2 separate regions of the Homo sapiens genome follow, and region 1 is linked to region 2. The links are contacts of gene promoters, found by promoter capture Hi-C in blood cells and fetal thymus (Javierre and others, 2016). All regions are on one chromosome and are shown on one strand. The core of a region is centred on a gene start or on the middle of the fragment in contact, and the rest is flanking DNA. Distances in the headings are between cores, read along the strand shown.

Evidence for each region. The method cuts DNA at HindIII sites, captures the fragments that hold promoters and counts their contacts. A CHiCAGO score of 5 or more calls a contact.
Region 1: a fragment that was not itself captured here is called in contact with the fragment with the promoter of AKAP3 in region 2 in 2 of 17 cell types (activated CD4 T cells and non-activated CD4 T cells); the score reaches 8.6 in activated CD4 T cells.

What each region holds. Positions count from the first base shown.
Region 1 is chr12:3,071,682-3,076,982 of GRCh38, reverse strand. It overlaps the pseudogene RPL13AP24. Among named protein-coding and RNA genes, the nearest start is that of TSPAN9, 3.0 kb to the left of the region's middle. RefSeq lists silencers at 49-98, 3,315-3,464 and an enhancer at 3,246-3,540. The HindIII fragment of the contact is 2,312 bases long and covers 1,051-3,362 here.
Region 2 is chr12:4,647,801-4,653,331 of GRCh38, reverse strand. It overlaps AKAP3 (A-kinase anchoring protein 3), which reads left to right and starts at 4,281. Exons shown (of 6, transcript NM_001278309.2): 1 at 4,281-4,587. It overlaps NDUFA9 (NADH:ubiquinone oxidoreductase subunit A9), which reads right to left and starts at 4,218. Exons shown (of 11, transcript NM_005002.5): 1 at 4,157-4,218. The coding sequence starts at 4,205. RefSeq lists enhancers at 3,793-4,448, 4,317-4,526, 4,807-4,856. The HindIII fragment of the contact is 2,310 bases long and covers 3,241-5,531 here.

The DNA.
Region 1 (5,301 bases), core at 957-3,456, 1.6 Mb after region 2:
GGCACCCAAGGGCCTTCCTGGCCCAGGCCTCGGCTCTCTCCCTCGCGCCAGGCTGCCTGGCCTCGCCACCCCACCCCCACACCTACGAACCCCTTCCCTGGTGTTTCGGGCGGACTGTGCGAGATGCTGACAGCGCGGGTGTGTGTTGGAGCCTGCCTGAGACACCTCCCGCAGAAAGGGCCATGCCTCCCCAGGAGCTGGCGGCCTCCAAGGGCGACTACAGGGCACCGTGTGCCTGAGGGGTGCGCTAAGGCAGGAGAAACTCCAGCTAGGCATGTCTGGCCCGGGCGCTTTTTCAGGCCTGGATTTTATGTGTTTTTTGCTTTTTGTTTTGTTTTGTTTTTTCTTGAGACAAGGACTCACTCTGTTGCCCAGGCAGGAGTGCAGTGGTGCGATCACGGCTCACTGCAGCCTCGACTTCCCGGGCTCAAGTGATCCCGCCTCAGCCTCCAGAGTAGTTGGGACTGTAGGCGCGCACCACCACGTCCGGCGAAGTTTTTGATTTTTTTTGTACAGACGGTGGTCTCCCTGGGCCCAAGCTGGTCTCAAACTCCCGGGCTCAAGCCATCCTCCTGCCTCTGCCTCCCAAAGTGCTGGGATTATAGGCCCGGATTCTTAAAGCTAGAAGGCCTAAACTTGTTTCCAAAGAGCACTAAAACGCCATCTCTTCTCATCATTACTGTCATCAAAAATGTCTTCTAGGCCAGGTGTGGTGGCTCACGCGTGTAATCCCAGGACTTTGGGGGGCCCAGGTGGAAGGATTGCTTGAGCTCAGGAACTCAGGAATTCAAGAACAGCCTGGGCAACATAGGGAAACCCCATCTCAAAAAAAAAATGTTTTAATTAACCGGGTGTGGTGGCACACCCCTGTAGTCCCAGCTGCTCCGGAGGCTGAGGCTCAGGCGTTGGAGGCTGCAGTAAACTAGGATCATGCCACTGTACTCCAGCCTGGGCAGTAGAGGGAGACCCTGTCTTTAAAAGTGAAATTTTTTTAAATTTTAAAGAAACTGTATGCTGTGCTTCCCACGTGCCCTACCATTGCACTAAGCTTGACTGGGGACAAGTTTTTAAAACCTGGCTATAATCACTAGGGTCACTTTTGCTTTCTGCTAATTAGACTGGAAGTTTCCACTCATCTTCTGGGCCCCTTTCCGTCACACACATGCAACCTTGTTTTTGTCTATTAGACTAAACCCATAACCCATTTCCTTCTGATCTCCCTTTCCCCACAAGGAAAATATTCTCCTTCTACATTTTGCTTCATCCAAAGCCCTGTTCAATGCCCCTATAACAAAGTCTTCCCAAGGAACCCCCACCAGCCCCAATCTCTCCAGTCACTGCGGCAGAGTTGGGTACATGTACCCAGAAAAGGAAACTGGGTCTCAGACAGGGAAAGAGATATACTAGGATTGTCTGCCAGCAAGCCAACTCACTGGCAGACCATTGGACGCAGCCTGGTGAGGGAGTAGCCGCAGGGCTTGGGAGCCAGACACACCTGTCTGAATCCTGGCTCTGCTTTTATCGGCTGGGACCTCTTCAGGCCTGTTTTCTCACCTGTGGAATGGGGCATAAGAATACCAATTATGGGGATGGGCATGGTGGCTCACACCTGTAATCCCAGTACTTAGGGAGGCCGAGGCGGGTGGATTACCTGAGATCAGGAGTTTGAGACCAGCCTGGCCAACATGGTGAAACCCCGTCTCCACTAAAAATACAAAAATTAGCCGGGTGTGGTGGCACATGCCTGTAATCCCAGCTACTCGGAGGGCTGAGGCAGGAGAATTGCTTGAGCCTGGGAGACGGAGGTTGCAGTGAGCCAAGATCGTGCCACTGCACTCCAGCCTGGTCGACAGAGCGAGACTGTCTCAAAAAAAAAAAAAAAAAAAAACCAATTCCACAGGGTTGATGGGCTGACCAAGATGATGGAGTAAAAGCACAACATGTGATGTGTGGTGACTGCTCTACAAATGCTAGCTTCCTCCTGCCCTTTTTGGTTTTTGTTTTGTTTTGTTGTTTTTGAGACAGGGACTTGTTCTGCCACCCAGGCTGGAGGGCAGTGGTGCCATCATGGCTCACTGCAGCCTCCAACTCCTGGACTCAAGGATCCTCCAACCTCAGACTCCTAAGTAGCTGGGACCACACGTGCATGCCACCATACCCAGCTAATTGGGGTTTTTGTTTGTTTTGTTTTTGTTTTTGTTTTCGTTTTCGTTTTGTTTTGTAGAGACAGAGGCCTCACTATGTTGCTCAAGCTAGTTTTGAACTCCTGGCCTCAAGCAATCCTCCCACCTTGGCCTCCCAAAGTCCTCCTGCCCTTTAAAAAAAGATAGGCGGAGCACAGTGGCTCACACCTGTCATCCCAGCACTTTGGGAGGCCAAGGCAGGTGGATCACTCAAGCCCAGGAGTTCGAGACCAGCCTGGCCAACATGGCAAAACCCCATCTCTACTAAAAATACAAAAATTAGCCAGGTGTGCATGGGCGTGGTGGCACATGCCTGTACGGGAGGCTGAGGTGAGAGGATTGCTTGAGCCCAGGAGGTCAAGGCTGCAGTGAACCATGATTATACCACTGCTCTCCAGCCTGGGTGACAGAGTGAGACTCTGTCTCAAATTAATTAATTAATTAGAGCAAATCTGAAATAATGGAATTCTGAAGTCTTAGAGATAGATGAAATCTTAGAAGAAATCCCTCAGCAATAGCCCAGAAAATGGCTTCACTGCTCACTCTCCTTCACCACATTCAGAGGTGAATGCCTCAGTGCCTCTGAGGGGCTGACAGTTGGAAGGAAGCTCTGAAGAAAAGCTGTAGAGGAGATGGGATTATTCAGCATAAAGGACACAAAGGTGACTAGTGGTCTGTGAAGCAGACACACTGATAGTGTCCACTGAGGACTAAACGCAAGTAAACCTGACAATGACGCACCACCCTCTTGGGGAAGGGACTTACAAACGCATGAAGTCACTGCTTATCATACCAGGCTTCTGAGGAAATGTCATTGCATTTCCCTTCTGGAGGAGATTCTGAAAAATGCTGAGGTTAGATATAGGTAGGGTGACTGTATCCAGGTTTCGGGGGCACATCCTACTTACTCCTCTTGTCCTGGCATAGTTCCTAAGTCCCCTTTCACTCTCGAAATATCCTGGCGTGGATGATAAATTATATGCCATTTTAACTGTGAACAAAGGCAGGACTCCAAACAGCTCCTTCCAGGCCTGGATGTCAGCAACTCTGCTGGAATTTCTGGATCCCCAGGGACTTCAAAGGATAGCATGTCAGTTTATCCCCTTGAAATCACCAAATCAAATCAAAAATGACAATAGGCTAAAATTAAAGTCCCAGCCAACCACCCCAAGTCAAGCTTCAGGACTGTGCCTGCTGAATTGCGACACCTAGTGGCGAAAGTGCACGCTGCCGGAGCGGGGTTCCGCCAACACTTCACATTCGGCCATAGGTTTCAAGTGACTTGCAAAGCAGCTAACAGCTAACATGTACTGTTTATGTGCCAGGCACAGTTCTAAGTACTTTACATGTTCTAACCCACTGATCCTCACAACAACACCATGAGGTAGGTAGTAGCATCACCATCCCGACATTTTTACAGATGAGGAAACTGAGGCTGAGACAGGTTAAGTAATTTCTCCAAGGTCATTTCACCAGCAATTGACTAAGCTAGGATATAACCCCAGGTTGTCTGGCTGGAGGGCCTGCACAGTTAACTACTGCTCCATCCAGAGTGTAATGCACAAAGTTACTTCGGAGGAATCTTCCACCTGAAGAGACTTCCACCACCCCTCTGACATGGAGATGACCTGAGGGTAGAGTGAGAGGTAGAATGTATGAAGAGTTCCACTCTCGGCCAGGCGCAGTGGCTTATGCCTATAATCCCAGCACTTCGGGAGGCTGAGGTGGGTGAATCCCCTGAGGTTAGGAGTTTGAGACCAGCCTGGCCAACATGGTGAAACCCCGTCTCCACTAAAAATACAAAAATTAGCCGGGCCTGTAATCCCAGCTACTCGGGAGGCTGAGACAGGAGAATCACTTGAACCTGGGAGGCGGAGGTTGCAGTGAGCCAAGATCGTGCCACTGCACTCCAGCCTGGGCAACAGGACGAGACTTCGTCTAAAAAAAAAGAGTTCCACTCTCATGTCTACCAGTACAGAATAGTAGTTTCCACATCTATAAAAATCGCCTGGGCCTGGCGTGGTGGCTCACGCCTGTAATCCCAGCACTTTGGAAGGCCGAGGCGGGTGGCTCACCTGAGGTCAGGAGTTCCAGATTAGCCTGGCCAACGTGGTGAAACCCTGTCTCTACTAAAATTACAAAAATTAGCTGGCCGTGGTGGCGGGCGCCTGTAATCCCAGCTACTTGGGAGGCTGAGGCAGGAGAATCGCTTGAACCCGGGAGCGGGGGGTTGCAGTGGGCCAAGATCATGCCACTGCCCTCCAGCCTGGGCGACAGAGCGAGACTCTGTCAAAAAAAAAAAAAAAAGTCGCCTGGGCACGATGGCTCATACCTGTAATCTCAGCACTTTAGGAGGCCGAGGTGGGCGGATCACCTGAGGTCAGGAGTTTGAGACTAGCCTGACCAACATGGTGAAACCGTGTCTCTGCTAAAAATACAAAAAAAAGTTAGCCAGGCGTAGTGGCGAACGCCTGTAATCCCAGCTACTCGGAGGCTGAGGCAGGAGACTTACTTGAACCTGGGAGGCGGAGGTTGCAGTGAGCAGAGATCGCACCACTGCACTCCAGCCTGGGTGACAGAGCAAGACTCCGTCTCACAAAAAAAAAAAAAAAAAAAGGAAAAAAAAATGCTTTCCCAGGCGACCGGGGAAGACGGCGGAGGTGCAGGTCCTGGTGCTCGGTGGTCGAGGCCATCTCCTGGGCCGCCTGGCGGCCATCGTGGCTAAGCAGGTACTGCTGGGCCAGAAGGTGGTGGTCGTACGCTGCGAGGGCATCAACATTTCTGGCAATTTCTACAGAAACATGTTGCATGTTAAAGCACCTGGCCTTCCTCCACAAGCGGATGAACTCCAACCCTTCCTGAGGCCCCTGCCACGTCCGGGCCCCCAACGCATCTTCCTGCGGGCGGTGCGAGGCATGCTGCCCCCCAGGACCAAGCGAGGCCAGGCCGCCCTGGACCGCCTCAAGGTGTCTGACGGCATCCCACCGCCCTACGACGAGAAAAACCGGATGGTGGTTCCTGCTGCCCTCAAGATCGTGCGTCTGAGGCCTACAAGAAAGTTTGCCTATCTGGGGCGCCTGGCTCACGAGGTTGGCTGGAAGTACCAGGCAGTGACAGC
Region 2 (5,531 bases), core at 3,032-5,531:
TTATCCCTGTGTTCCTCCAGAATGACAAAGAACAAGTCTAATCCCTCTTCTACAATTAAGTGTAGCAATTATAGCCCCACTAAATATTTTCTTCTCCAGGTTAAACATTCCCTGTCCTGTCAAATATTCTTCATATGGCAGGAATGAGAATCTCTTTTGGATACATTCCAGTTTTCAAGTTATTGCTAACTCCTTAGAATAGAATTTTAGAGTTAGCTGCTCAACTTTCATGTAAGTAGAAACAAAAAGGTTTAAAGTGCTAACGCACTTCTGCTCCAATCAACAAACTTCGGAGCTTAGCATTCGTGCTTTGTACACTTGGGAGAGGTGAAAGACACAAACAGGACTTTCTTTAGAAAATCTGTGTTTGTTTCTAGGGATGACTTTCAGGTGGCATTCTGCCCAAAGGTCATTGTTCTTCCCTATCCAAAAGTATTGAATTGGAGAAATAGCCTAGCTCACTGATAGTGACAGAAATTAAAAGTAAACATCATGGACCACACATCATAATAACAAAATAATAACATCATATTAACAGCTACCTTTACAGAGCTCTTGGCAGGTGTCCAGCATTATTCTAAGTGCTGCATAGGTATTATCTTTTTTAATGCTATCTTTATCACCACTTTATGGATAAGGTTAGTGACTAGCCCAAAGCACTAGTAAAGGAGATTAAAAAGCAGTCCCATGAGGTAGGAGAAAAACTCAGAAGGAAACAGAATCTAAAAACCCAAAATAAGAAACTGTTTCAAGGAGAGAATGGTTAACTTTACCAAATGCTGAAAGTGAAGTAGGAAGAGGACAGAGGACCACAGAAGCTGGAGGATGTGGCTGTAGGTGGCATAAATAAGAGCAATTTTATTGGATTAGTGGGACTGAAAGCCAGACTGGAGCAAACAAGAGAGGCTGTGAGGCAAGGAAGTAGATGAGGAGTATACACAATCCTTCTGAAAAAGGAGAAATGGAACTAGAGAAAACAAGGACAGGAATAGGTTTGTTTGTTTGTTTTAAATATGAGTTAACATTTATGTGCTGATGGAAATGACATGATTTCCATGGTAGAGGTAGAAAATTACTGATTCAGGAAAGGGAATGAATAGTTGAGAGAGGATAAGATTGAATGCAAAGTGAAGGAACTGGCCACAGATTGGAACAGAAGGAGCTCACCCACTGTAACAAGAGAAAAGGCAAAGAATTATCACATATCAACTATTAGAGTTTATGGTGGGAAAATGACTGTTCTCATCTGATTCCTTTGATTTCTCTGTAAAGCTGAGAATGAGACAAAAGCACATGTTAGAGGTTTTAGGAAACTCGCTATGTTAAGTAATGATTATGGAGACAAGGAAACCAAATTTCCTAGAAAAATGTAGCACTGAAAATCTACTTGAGATTTGTATTCATGAATTTAAAATAAGGCCAGTTAGTCTGAAGTTTTCCCTAGCCCCGTTCTCCATTGCTCAGTGGCAGGCAGCAAATTACGTGGAAAGTTTTGTTTAATCAGGGTCAATGTTTTTTACGACAATGGGAGTTGGGCTGGGGAGTTGAGGATGCATAAAAGGGAATGATAAGAGTGAAGAGTAAGGAAATGAGGACATAGGATAAGACAGGCAAAAGATGGCAGAGTCAATGAACTGGGAAGAATTACTTGAGTTGAGGAATTAATACCTCAAAGGACTGTTAAGAGGATTAAACATACATAAACCACGTAGCACATTACCTAGAGCACATTAAGCATTCTATGAATAATAGTTGCTTTTATTACTTTGAAATTTCTCAGAAGGTAATGTCACACTAACCTCACATGGCTATTGTTTTTTTTTAATAATTATGGGCCAAGAATTATTCTAGAAACTGTGACTATCACAGTAAAATACAAAACCCTGGCTTCATGAAGCTCACAGTTTAAAGGGTTAATGAGAATAACATATGGGCAAGCATCTGTCACAGTGCCTTGCAAATACTAGGTGCTCAATAAATATAAATTATTACTCTCTTTGGTTCCAGCCTCTCCACTTTCTTCCATTTATTATGAGTACTATTAGAAGAATGATATTCTTTATTAATTATATATTCATTATATTTCTCTGCTTAAAAACCTACATTAGTTTCCTACTGCAATACCCAAACCAATAGTCCAGACATATTTGCTTGCACACTGCATTAATTTTTTTAAGTATTTATTTAAAAAATTATATGCACGTTCTATGTAGTACCAATATGATATACACATTATAAATCATACATTACTTAGAATAGTGTGTGGCATACAGTTTAAACTACATAAGTGTTAGCTATTATTACTATAGAAAGCAATTTTTAGGAGTTCTAATTTATATTTCCACAACTTATTAGGTCCTCTTGCACAACTCCCTTTGGAGACTACCGATCTAAACTCTGCTTGGCTTTCAAAGGTCTCCATTGTCTGATCCCATCTAACACATTCAACCTCCTTTTCCACTATCCCAGATATTCAGGTAGTCATTTCACTGCCTCTTGAATACCTCATGACTCCATTCTCACCCACTTGTCTTTGCCAGAGGACTTTCCAGATCATAACAGCCCTAAAGAGACCAGTGGGAGCACTACAATTCTCCACTGGTCTTCCAATCATCCCTCAGTACCTCAAATGATACTAATCTTTCCCTTTTATGATTTCCTGTGATACTTAATAGTCTTGCCACACTTAACTATATATAGTTGTCTTACACAGTTCTGTCCTATAGTGTGTGGATTATGTTACATACTAGACTTGCCTCTACAGAATTTACTCAAAAACTTACTTTACCAGACAATAACGCAGAGTGGTTAAGAACACAAGCTATGGTGTCAGTCAGAGGAAAGTAAGTTAAAAGAGGAAAATTAATAAAAATACCTAGAACTGGAGATTGCAGATAGCAGGTACTCAATAAATAGTGATTACCATTCACAATCTACATTACGTCATACAATTGTAATAGTTTAACAAGAACCAGCAAATGTCTTTGCAAAGACATTGTGACTACAAAACCATCCACTATAAGTGATGTGCACCACCACCTTCCCAGTGGTATGCAGGAGTTCTACCCAAGATGGAAAACAAAAAAAAAAGGATCCTCTAAACACTCCTAATTCTTGCCTCAGGCTGAACATCAAGCCTATCTGTGGTGCTTTTAAAAATTTAAGGTGCAAGGAGCTAATCTCACAAATTCTGACTCAATAGCTCTACACTCAGTCCTCATTTCTAATTTTTATAAAGCTTTACGAGTGATTCTGACATGAGCCAATTTTGAAAGCAAATGATATTCTGTAACGACTAAAATACACTAAGAAAAATACAACTTTGGGGGTTTGATTGGAATATGTTTGTGGAAGAGTAGAGGGTGAAAGGACAATGATGAAGTGTAACCGTATTTCTAATTTCCTTGCTTTTTAGTGAGTGGAAGGACAAATGTATGTTTTCAGTTTGAGGAGTGGGAGCAGATCCAATCAGAACAGAAGAGAAACTAAATAATGCTAACAAATTCTAACATAGCCTTCATTCTTCACTTTCCTTTCCACCAAGCTCCTGATTCTTCTCTCCTCAAACATCACTCTCTCCCCCAGACCCCAACGCACTTTGCCGAACACATTCTACATCCGTAGAGACGCTTTTGGGTAAAAGGATGCTTTTACAAATATTAGCTCATTTAATCTTATCAGAGACTCCCTGGTATTGTAATATTATCATTTCCATTGTGCTCATATGAATTGAGACCCATTAAGGGTTTGCACAAGGTCATAAAATCAATCTAAGAAAACCTCTCGCCACTAGCCTTTTTTCCCTCCCTTACACATTTCTCCCCCCGCCCCATACAAATATTTCTCATAACCCTAAACCCTTACAACCATATCAGAATTCTGATTCTCTCGATCCCTAACGTGTCCCCCGCATTCTCCTCTTCGCTTACAGCTGCTTAAGATCTTTTGTCCCCTCCCAAGGTGGTGCACAATTGAATATGTGAGCCGGGGAAGCGGAAAGCGAAAGGAGAAACCAGACTGAGGCAGCTCCAAACCTAGAGAAACCAGAGTGTGCCTAGGAAGTTGGCGTGACCGCTGCAGCACGGTGCCACTTCCAAAACCTTAAATCCCCGTCTCGGAATCCCGACCAGGGGCCGCCGTTCCCGGTAACACTTACGTGACATTGACAGGACCCGGACAACCCGGGATTGTGCGGCAGCCGCCATCTTTTCCCACAATCCCCCACGACAGCACTCCCGGCTGACTACGGCTGCTAAGCTGGGTCAAAACTTACCTTTCTCGCCTGTCTGCGCAAGCGCTAACCAAGAAACGACGGTTTCGGGTAGATTGTTGGTTAAGAAGAAAGCTGGGAAAGTGAAGGAGAGGGGGAAGAAAGGAAGTGAAAAGACTTTGGCTGTTGGAATCTCAGATCTGGAATAGGCTGTATAGGCTATTTATAATCTCTAATTGCCGAGGAACCTGAAGTTCAGAGTTAACCAGTGACTGACTCAGGACATGCAAAATGGCAAGACCCGAGGTAGAAGAGCTCACCTTTCCTGACTCTCAGTTTCCTGTTCCCTGAAAATGTAAGCTAAGCTGGCAGCCCTGGTGAGTCCGGAGGAAGAAGGAGGCGTAGCCCTCCGCGCTCAGGAGATCCAGGGCCCAGGAGAGAGAAAAGGGGGGACAAGAACGAGGGGAAAAGTGGAGAAGAGAAACCAAAATAGGGTGTGTCCCAAGTAAATAAATGTGCGTCGAGCCCGCCAAGCACATTCTCTCATAGGGACCCTTGCGCCTGCTGTTCGCGTTTCCTGGAATGCACACTCAGGTGTCTGCACCAGCTCAAGTCTCTGCTCAAAAGTGACCTCTTCGGATAAAACTTCTCTGACCATCCTATCCAAGGTGGTAATTATTCCACCAATTTTTGGTTTAAGTTTATATACCAAAGCACTTATCACCAACTAGCATATGAATCTAGGAGTTCTTAACCAGAAGTGTGATTCATGAGTGGGCTTCGGGAAATCTGTGAACTTCCTGAAATATTATGCAAATTTAGTGGCCATGTGTGCCATCTGAACATCTGTCTAAGGAGAAACTGCAGATGGCTCTCTCTAGCGCAATGGCTTGTAATTTTTTCTTTAACTGTGGTCACCTTTGAGAATCTGCATTGTTCTACAAAGAGCCATCTAGAAACTGAGGAAATTCCAGGTTAGACTAAGCGCTTGGATTTTAAAATACTTTATTCTGGTCAACCTCTCCAGATTGCTGGGTAGGAGATGGCAACCAGTGATCCTGTGAAACATACCTTAGGCTTATCAGAAAACCACCTAGTTTGGGGAGGGCGGGTTCTTTCTAGACTTGGTAATCCTTCCAGTGCTTTGTTTTTTCAGGAAAAGTATGTGTTTCTGGGATAGACAAAAAGGCCTGTGATGAGTAGGGATGTAGAAGTTGCTTATTACTAGGCTTGAAATCTTGGCTGTTTCCACTCTATCTTGCCCCTACTGTTTACTGAAGTGTCGCCTAACAAATTGAATTGGAAGAGAGAAAAAAACCTT